Regions from separate parts of the Homo sapiens genome. Here all the other regions are linked to region 3. The links are contacts of gene promoters, found by promoter capture Hi-C in blood cells and fetal thymus (Javierre and others, 2016). All regions are on one chromosome and are shown on one strand. Each heading gives the region's core, a stretch centred on a gene start or on the middle of the fragment in contact. The rest is flanking DNA. Distances are from core to core; before and after follow the strand shown. Region 1 has its middle 92 kb from the start of PLSCR2. Region 2 has its middle 80 kb from the start of PLSCR4. Region 3 holds the start of PLSCR1 (phospholipid scramblase 1).

Region 1 (2,700 bases), core at 156-2,655, 170 kb after region 3:
AGTTTAACTCACAGCTCCTCATGGCAGGGGAGGCCCCCCATGAGGGTGAAACAATCATGGCAGAAGGCAAAGGGGAAGCAAGGCACATATTACATAGCAGCAGGAGAGAGAGAGAGAATTAGGGGAAGTGCCACACTTTTAACCATCAGATCTCGTGAGAACTCACTCACTGTCATGAGAACAGTGTTAAGGAAAAAGCTCCTGTGATCCAGTCACCTCCCACCAGGTCCCTCCTTCAACACATGGGGATTCGGGATGAGATTTGGGTGGGAACACAGAGCCAAAGCCAAACCATATCAAGATGAAATGAAGAAAAATGGAACAAGCAATATGTCTTGGCCTGTTCTGCTGTCATCTACATGGCATTCTCTAGGTGACTACTCAATTCTAGTAAAATATATGCAGGAAATGGATTTGTCCATTCAAGAAACATTAAATCCAACTAAATTCCAAAGTATAGAAACCAGAGAGAATGATGTCAGGGAGCAGAGGGTCAATCAAGATGGAATCGTGTCCACAAAATATGAAAATACACATGCCATTGTTTAAGCCAGAACTACCTTTAGAAGTATTAAGAAATGAATCTAGATCAAGGGTAGTTGAGAAATAAATGGGAGATAACAGAAATATATAACAAGCTATGCTTTTAGGAAGCTCAGCAGGAAAAGGGGAAGTAAGAGACTAGATGGTGGCTACAGGGAGTAGAAAAAAGAGATGGCTTTATTTGATGGGAGAGCAAAGTCTACATTTTTGATATGGGCAAGAAAAAAACAAAAAAAAAAAAGAAAAAATAGTTGAAGACATAGGAGAGGAATACTATGTATGACCAACAGAGCAAGAGCCTGGAACCTAAGGATGGAATAAGAAGCAGGAGACATGAGGAGGGCACACCTACTCTTCTGCAATTAGAAGAAAAGTTAGTATAGACATACATGTTGATAACAGTTTGGGTAGGTCAAACAGGAGAGTAAGGAGGATTACTCCTGATGGCCTTTGATTTCATAACAAGGTAGCAGCTAGATTCGCTTCTATGTCATACTTACTATTCACTTATTCATTCAACCAGTTGATTCAGTATCCACAATGCATTAGTTAACGAAGGAGGCACAGTTTCTGCCTGTACTAATTTTGCAGTCTAACAGTCTAGTGGGATTTGAAGATGCATAAATGTGTAGTAACAATACAGTGTAATGAGTGGATTTACAAGAGAGGTAGAGATTAATGGCACTCATAAAAATGTTTACCAATGAAGATGGGCTATCTCATATGACTCTGTTGCAGAAAAACTATAATTTTAATTATATTCTACTATTTTGCTTGCATATTCTTGGACATTTTCTCCACAAAATTTTGAAGATCATATTGGCCAATTTTGGTGAATTCATAGTGTAGTATTATGTAAGAATAAAAACCATGACATAGATCTATTTTAATCTAATCAAAATAACATTTGGTGCTTATTAAAGCGAAAACAACAAAAAAAATTGCCTCATAGTATGTGTGTCCTAATGTTTAAAAGGAAATTATAAACCAAGGAATCAGAAAGGAGCAATTGATTGTGTAAAATATTGTATCAATGTTAATGTCCTGTTATGTTAATTGTGGTAATATTAAGGGAATGTTCCTTATGGAGATAATGCACACTGAAGTATTTAGGAGTACAGCAATACCATGTTTGCAATTTAAAATTATTATTTCATATGTATATATGTATATATTAAAGGGAGTAATAAAGCAAATGTGAAAAAATAGGGGAATATAGGTGACAATTGTGTGAAAATTTTTTGTACTATTCTTGCAACTTTTCTGAAAATATATAATTATTTCTAAATTTACAAAAATTACCAGGCAGTGGGAGGCAATTGGATAGTTTAGCATAGGTTTACATAATAAAGTAGTTGACCGCCTGAAGGTCATAGGAAAAGAAAACAAAACACGTCGCATGCTTTTTCTTTTCTTGTAGTATAATAAATTCTAAAATTATGCTAACATTCAAGATAAATTAAACTTTCAGTGGCAAAGTGCCAGTTTTGTCATTTGTATGTTCAAGTAACCAAGATAATCTGAATGGAGAAGAAACAGCTGCCACCTGGATTCCACACCTCCTTGAGTACCCACCTTTATTTGTCTATTCTCAGAACCCCAAATTTCTCCTTTCTTTTTCCTTGCTGCAGAAAAATGTTAAACAATAACTATAAGTCTCACCATGTGCCCTAATTCTGAGGATTTCCTAAGCATATGGAAAACTTAGAAACTGAGAGACTAAAGATAAACTAAAGATAGACTAAACTAAAGGTAGATATATTTGTATAGCTATCTTTCTATAGCTATCTATCTACTTATGCTATTCGTTTTGTTTCTCTGGAGAACCCAAAGTAATACACATTATGAATGAAAAAAAAATTGATGGGATAGGGATACTAAGAAAAACATTTAACATTCTAAATTTAATAAACAGAAAATGGACAGAGATTCTTTCTTTGTAACAATTCAGATAGCAATAAACTCACATGTAACACATGGTAATTCTAAAAAAAAATTTAAAAATAGAATCAAATTCTACATCTTCACTGGAAATAATCAAACATCTTAAAATATTCTATTATTTTTACTCTTTATTTCTATAACCTACAGACAATTTCTAAAATGCAAAATATTTTGAATCTTTGTTCTTCAAATTCACAACACACCACTGTATAA
Region 2 (2,700 bases), core at 104-2,603, 210 kb after region 3:
ATAATAAATAAATATGTGTATATATATTTATATATCCTGTTAGTTCTGTTCCTCTAGGGAAACCTGACTAATACTAATACAGGTAACCAATCATTAAATTATTATACTAGCAACTGTTTTGCAATCCAGGCACAGAAAAATTTATCTTGGAGAAATTACTGAAACTGATTTTCTTGAAAGTTTCAAAAACATGTTTTCTCAGTTGTCTTAGCTAACAGTAACTATTATTTGTTCTGTTTTTGTTAAAATCTAGGAAAAACAGATTTAAAAGATATGTTAGAAACTCTTGCTTATGCAAGGATGGGCAGATGAGAAACACCAGAAAGAATCAATTAGAAAGACAAAATATTATTTATTTAGATTTGTGAAATTGTTGCTACTGGAATTAAATATTTAATTAATAATTAAATTGTATTTAATAATTATATTTATTTATTAATTTATGTATTTATTACTTATATTTATAATCATAATTACATAATTTATTATTTATTTATTTAATAATAAATATTATTCATTTAATTTGGTGAATTATTCTTTTTCCCCCCTCCCTGACATAAAACTAAATAATATAAGTCTACAAAATGGGACAGCAGTAGTTCATTGCTTTCTCTACTGAAATATACTATTTCCTTAGCCAAATTATGCTACTACTAATCTATAAATTTTAATGAATAGTACCAAAATATTTTAGAGTTAGAAGGAATATTGAGGACTACCTGCATTACATTCTAATCTACAAATGAGAAAACAGGCCAAGGTCATGTGTCCAACGTTATACTGAGCACAAATAGTTGAAACAGGACTGCAAATTACAGATTCCTTTTATCCCCCAGTATTCTTGCAATCACACAAAAAATTTAACAGACTTTTTTTTTTTTTTTTTTTTTGAGATGGATCTCGCTCTGTTGCCCAGGCTTGTGTGCGGGGGCACGATCTTGGCTCACTGCAACTTCCGCCTCCCAGGTTCAAGCAATTCTCCTGCCTCAGCCTCCCGAGTAGCTGGGACTACAGGTGCATGCTGCCACAGCCAGCTAATTTTTTGTACTTTAGTAGAGACGGGATTTCACCTTGTTGCCAAGGCTGGTTTCAAACTCCTGAGCTCAGGCAATCCGCCTGCCTTGGCGTCCCAAATTGTTAGTATTACAGGCGTGAGCCACTGAGCCCAGCCTTAATGTGCAATCTTTTATAACAATGGTTAATAGAAAATTTTTAGATATTTGTTTCAAATTTATCTACTGTTGTAAATTAATCGTAAGCAAATGCTAACATAGCACATCTCAACAATACCGACTGATCTCACGGCAATCTTCTACCTATGAAGGAAAAACTAAATTACTATGTTACAAAAACAAAAGCATTTAAAATACCTGTCATCTATGAGGTATTTCAATTTACTCATCCATTCATTTATTGATACAGTCATATTTTTCACAGCCACCATTCACATCTGAGTTTAATTTCATTTATTAAGATATATTTTTAGATTCTTTTGTGAAAGATACTTGTTGTTTGACAGATTCACTTGCATTGAAAAATTTAATTGTTGGTCATACAAAGAATATCAGATGATCATAGACAGACTCAAACAATTACCTTGATGAAGGGAAAGAACTATAGCTAATGGGCAGCCAAATACTACTTTGTCCAGATGTGACCTAGCCTGCCTGTTAGTCTGACAGATAACATGGAATAGACAATATGTCTGGAGATGTGGGAATACTTTATTCATAGTTCTGGCAGATTCACAGTCAGTTATAAAAATTATTCTGGGGACTACTACTATATTTCCTATATCCTTGAATTGTTTATTCTTAGTTTCCTATATATTATAACATTTCAATATTTCTGTTTGTTTTCTGTGTCTGTATAGCTCTCTCTGTTCTGTCCGGTTTTGTGTATTCCTGTCTACCTGTAATTTTTGCCACTTGTTTGAGATATGGCCATAGGACCTTCCTAGATATGGAAATCAGAGAAATGTGGTGCTGTTTTCTTAACTGACAGCAAGCTAATATTGTTGGCCTTTTGAGAGATCATTGTATACTATCACTGTTCTTTGCCTGTGAATGAAATCACTTGAGAGATAGGCAAAGGAGTAAAACTGACTTCATCATTAACCTGATAAAGCTGTTTAGAGGACAAGGCTTCATTCTCTAGCAATAATAAATTTGCAAAAGGGTGCTGAATCAGAATTACTCTCACTGTCTCAGGCAGAGCTGGAAAAAAACACAGCCCTTTATTCTAGAGTCCTACCACCATAAACCTCACTCCCTGAAAAACCTAGGAATTCGCGCTGTCTGTTAACAGGCTGTCTCTCCAAAGAGAAACACAGCTGAACTTCTCATACCCAGTTGCTTTGCTCAAACTCCCCAAGAACAATCATTTATCCCTGATCCCTGAGGCAAGTAAATGAGGGAACAGATAAAGATCAGAAGTCTTCTCTAATGCCAGTATCTCTACATGGAAATATCAGCAATGGAGAGTAATTTTGGTAGAGGTATTGCTTGTTCCCTTAAGTCTCTTCTTCTCCCATAATATCTCTAATTTCACTGATTCCACATGAAACCTGGAATACACAGAATATTTCTGACCCTTCTATGTAACTAGGTTTGGAGATATGGTAAAGTTCTGTCCCATTAGATGTTAATTGTCTAGTGGGTACTTTAACAGATAATTGGCACATACCTTTCCTTGATTCTT
Region 3 (2,955 bases), core at 208-2,707:
ACCTATCTTAGCTTTCAAAAGAGTTCGAGCATTACTACCCAACCACAAAAGAACCCTGAACTGGGAATGAATGTATCCATGACCCATTTGTGAGTAAGTCAGGTGAATCGATTTTGTCCGTACTAGAAGAGGATCAATTGCTTGAGATCACAAATGATGGTGGCCTTAAAAGTATGTTTGAGACAGCTTCAAATCCCATGTTCTGGATTAAACTCAAGGTGGGATATCCTGAGATTGCCACAAAAGCACTGAAGAGTCTGCTTCCATTTCCAACATGCTATCTTTGTGAAGCAGGATTTTCTGCAGTGACAGCAACCAAAACAAGATTACGGAGTAGACTGGACATAAGCAACACACTTCTGGTGTCACTGTCTCCCACCGTTCCCAGATGGGACCTTCTAATTGCAGGAAAACAAGGTCAGGGCTCCCACTGATTCCACATTATGGTGAGTTGTATAATTATTTTATTATATATTACAATGTAATAATAATAGAAGTAAAGTGCGCAATACACGTAATGTGCTTGAATCATCCTGAAACCGTCTGCCACCCGGCCCTGGTCCATGGAAAAATCCTCTTCCGTGAAACTGGTCCCTGGTGCCAAAAAGGTTGGGGACCACTGGTTTATCCAGGGTCATCCAGGTTGGAGTGGGGTCAGGAGAAATGGGGAAATTTAGGTAAAAGTATACAAAGTTACAAACACGTAGGATGAACAAATGGGAAGACCTAATGTACAACATGAGGGCTATAGTTAATGATAGTGGTATTCAGGATTTATGCTAAATAAGTAGATTATAGCTGCTCTTGCCCCAAGGGGGGAAATGTGTAATTATAGGAGTTGATGGATATGTCATACAAATAACTTAAATACACAGAATAAAAACTATTTTAGTTTAAAAAGGAACAATATTTATAAAAAAATAAAGTGAGCTCGAAAACATTCAAATAACTGCTTAAAAATTAAAAAGTAATATCACATAATTTAATAGAAGGAAAGAAAGAGCAAGACAGCAAGAAAGAAAAGGCACCATAAAGAAAAACAATTTTGGCCCCTCCTCATTTGTAGTCTTAAGCTGCCTCTACTCCCTCGCCTTGAAAAGCCACGGGCTTCCGAGGGATGGAGGTCAAAGCCAGAGTAAAGAAAGTTCCCGGGGGAGGCCACTCCCCAGCTGATGACTTTCCAGTTCCAGTTAGTGTCGGAGTCCCAGTTCCTCTCCTTAACCACCGGACAAACGTCTCTGGAGTCTCTCCAATGAGCAAGAAAGCAAGTCGGGGGTAGGGGAGGGGCCTCACACCAGGGGGTGGGCGCAGTCCCTCCTCCAGCTCCTTCACCCTCCAGTAGTCTCGTGGGTCCCCGAGCGCCAGCGCGGGAACCGGGAAAAGGAAACCGTGTTGTGTACGTAAGATTCAGGAAACGAAACCAGGAGCCGCGGGTGTTGGCGCAAAGGTTACTCCCAGACCCTTTTCCGGCTGACTTCTGAGAAGGTTGCGCAGCAGCTGTGCCCGGCAGTCTAGAGGCGCAGAAGAGGAAGCCATCGCCTGGCCCCGGCTCTCTGGACCTTGTCTCGCTCGGGAGCGGAAACAGCGGCAGCCAGAGGTGCGCGGGCGGCTTTCTCTGCCGCCTCCTGGGGACTTGGGCGCGGGAACTGCGCGGAGCCTGCGCTGGGGCCAGGGCCGGGGTCAGGTGTGGAGGGCAACTTGTGGGGAACCGGCGCGAGGGCCCGCAGGTTGTGTTTGCTGCTCTGGGGGTGGAGGATGTGGGGTGAAGGTTGGGGCCAGAAATGCAAGAGGCCTCTGAAAGGGACCCTGGAAGTGGAGCAGGTACACGGCAAGGGGCCCCAGGCGGCCCAGCGGCACCCGGGCTCACCCCAGAACCATTCGAATGACAAGGGGTGCCCTGCCTGAAAACGCCTTGCGGGGCTCAGCTTCCCCTTAGCTACACTGCTTTACAGGTAGAGAGCGGCCCTGAATCCTGGGTAGAGTCTGGGCTCAGGAGCATGTGCCAGCGTAGTGGGGCTATTAGAAGGAATGGTTAATACAGCCTGCAAGCTGTCATTTATCAGTAAGTATTCAATGAAGTCCGCCGGAGCCCACATCTATGCTAGGCCCTCTACAATACCAGCTTAGGAAAGATAGTGGCGGTATCTAGCACGGTTCCTAAGACCATTAGCTCCAGTCAGGCTCCCCGACTTTAAATTCGGCCTCTACTGCTTCACGTCTGTGGACTGTCAGCCACTTTCTTCTTATATATGTTCTTTCCATTGCCTCATCTCTGAAATTGTGTAACTATTAAATGAGCTACAGAGTATTAATGTAAAATTCTTAGAGCAGTGCCTGGCGCTACAGAAAGTACTCAGTGAAAGTTAGCTCTTATTATTTTAAATATTTGACAAAGTTCCTGCTTCTCCAAGCTGATTCTCTGGTTCCCAGGTGGTTTCATTCATGCACTGTTATTCCTGGAAGTCTTGGCATGGCCACTTCCCAGTTCCAGGAACAGGCAGTCGTTGTTTTTTCTGGCTTATCACATTGAGATACATGGTTACTACAAGTGACACTTAAACGTGTCAGACAGTTTGGGGGCTCCCTTCTTGAACTTTTTCTAAGAGCAAACCTTTGTCTTAATGCCACCCTGTTTACAACAATAGTAGGGCTTTGAACAATGAGAAAATGCGGGGAAATGAAAAAGACATATAAAGGGAAAGAGTGGATTTATGCAATTGGATAGAAAAGTGGCATGTAAAATAGCTGGTTTATAGATCAAACTGCCTTTAGATCTGTAAAGGAGCTTAGAGTACATACAGGTGGAGAGACATCAGATGTGTGTGAGCAGACCCTTATGTACTTCTCCATCTTCATCTCTAAGAATGTCTCCCTCTTTTGCTCTGTAACCTCACTCGTCTTCCTTTACTTGAATGAGGGACGTTCCTCCAGCTCAGGAATTCTACCTATGGAGTT

The links. The method cuts DNA at HindIII sites, captures the fragments that hold promoters and counts their contacts. A CHiCAGO score of 5 or more calls a contact.
Region 1: a contact is called between a fragment that was not itself captured here and the fragment with the promoter of PLSCR1 in region 3, in 2 of 17 cell types (total B cells and total CD8 T cells). The highest score is 5.1, in total B cells.
Region 2: a contact is called between a fragment that was not itself captured here and the fragment with the promoter of PLSCR1 in region 3, in 1 of 17 cell types (endothelial precursors). The highest score is 5.6, in endothelial precursors.

Annotation. Positions count from the first base shown.
Region 1 is chr3:146,376,290-146,378,989 of GRCh38, reverse strand. No RefSeq gene overlaps it. Among named protein-coding and RNA genes, the nearest start is that of PLSCR2, 92 kb to the left of the region's middle. The HindIII fragment of the contact is 3,693 bases long and covers 1-2,700 here.
Region 2 is chr3:146,329,922-146,332,621 of GRCh38, reverse strand. No RefSeq gene overlaps it. Among named protein-coding and RNA genes, the nearest start is that of PLSCR4, 80 kb to the right of the region's middle. The HindIII fragment of the contact is 2,829 bases long and covers 1-2,700 here.
Region 3 is chr3:146,543,109-146,546,063 of GRCh38, reverse strand. It overlaps PLSCR1 (phospholipid scramblase 1), which reads left to right and starts at 1,457. Exons shown (of 9, transcript NM_021105.3): 1 at 1,457-1,597. RefSeq lists an enhancer at 1,128-1,607. The HindIII fragment of the contact is 8,607 bases long and covers 1-2,955 here.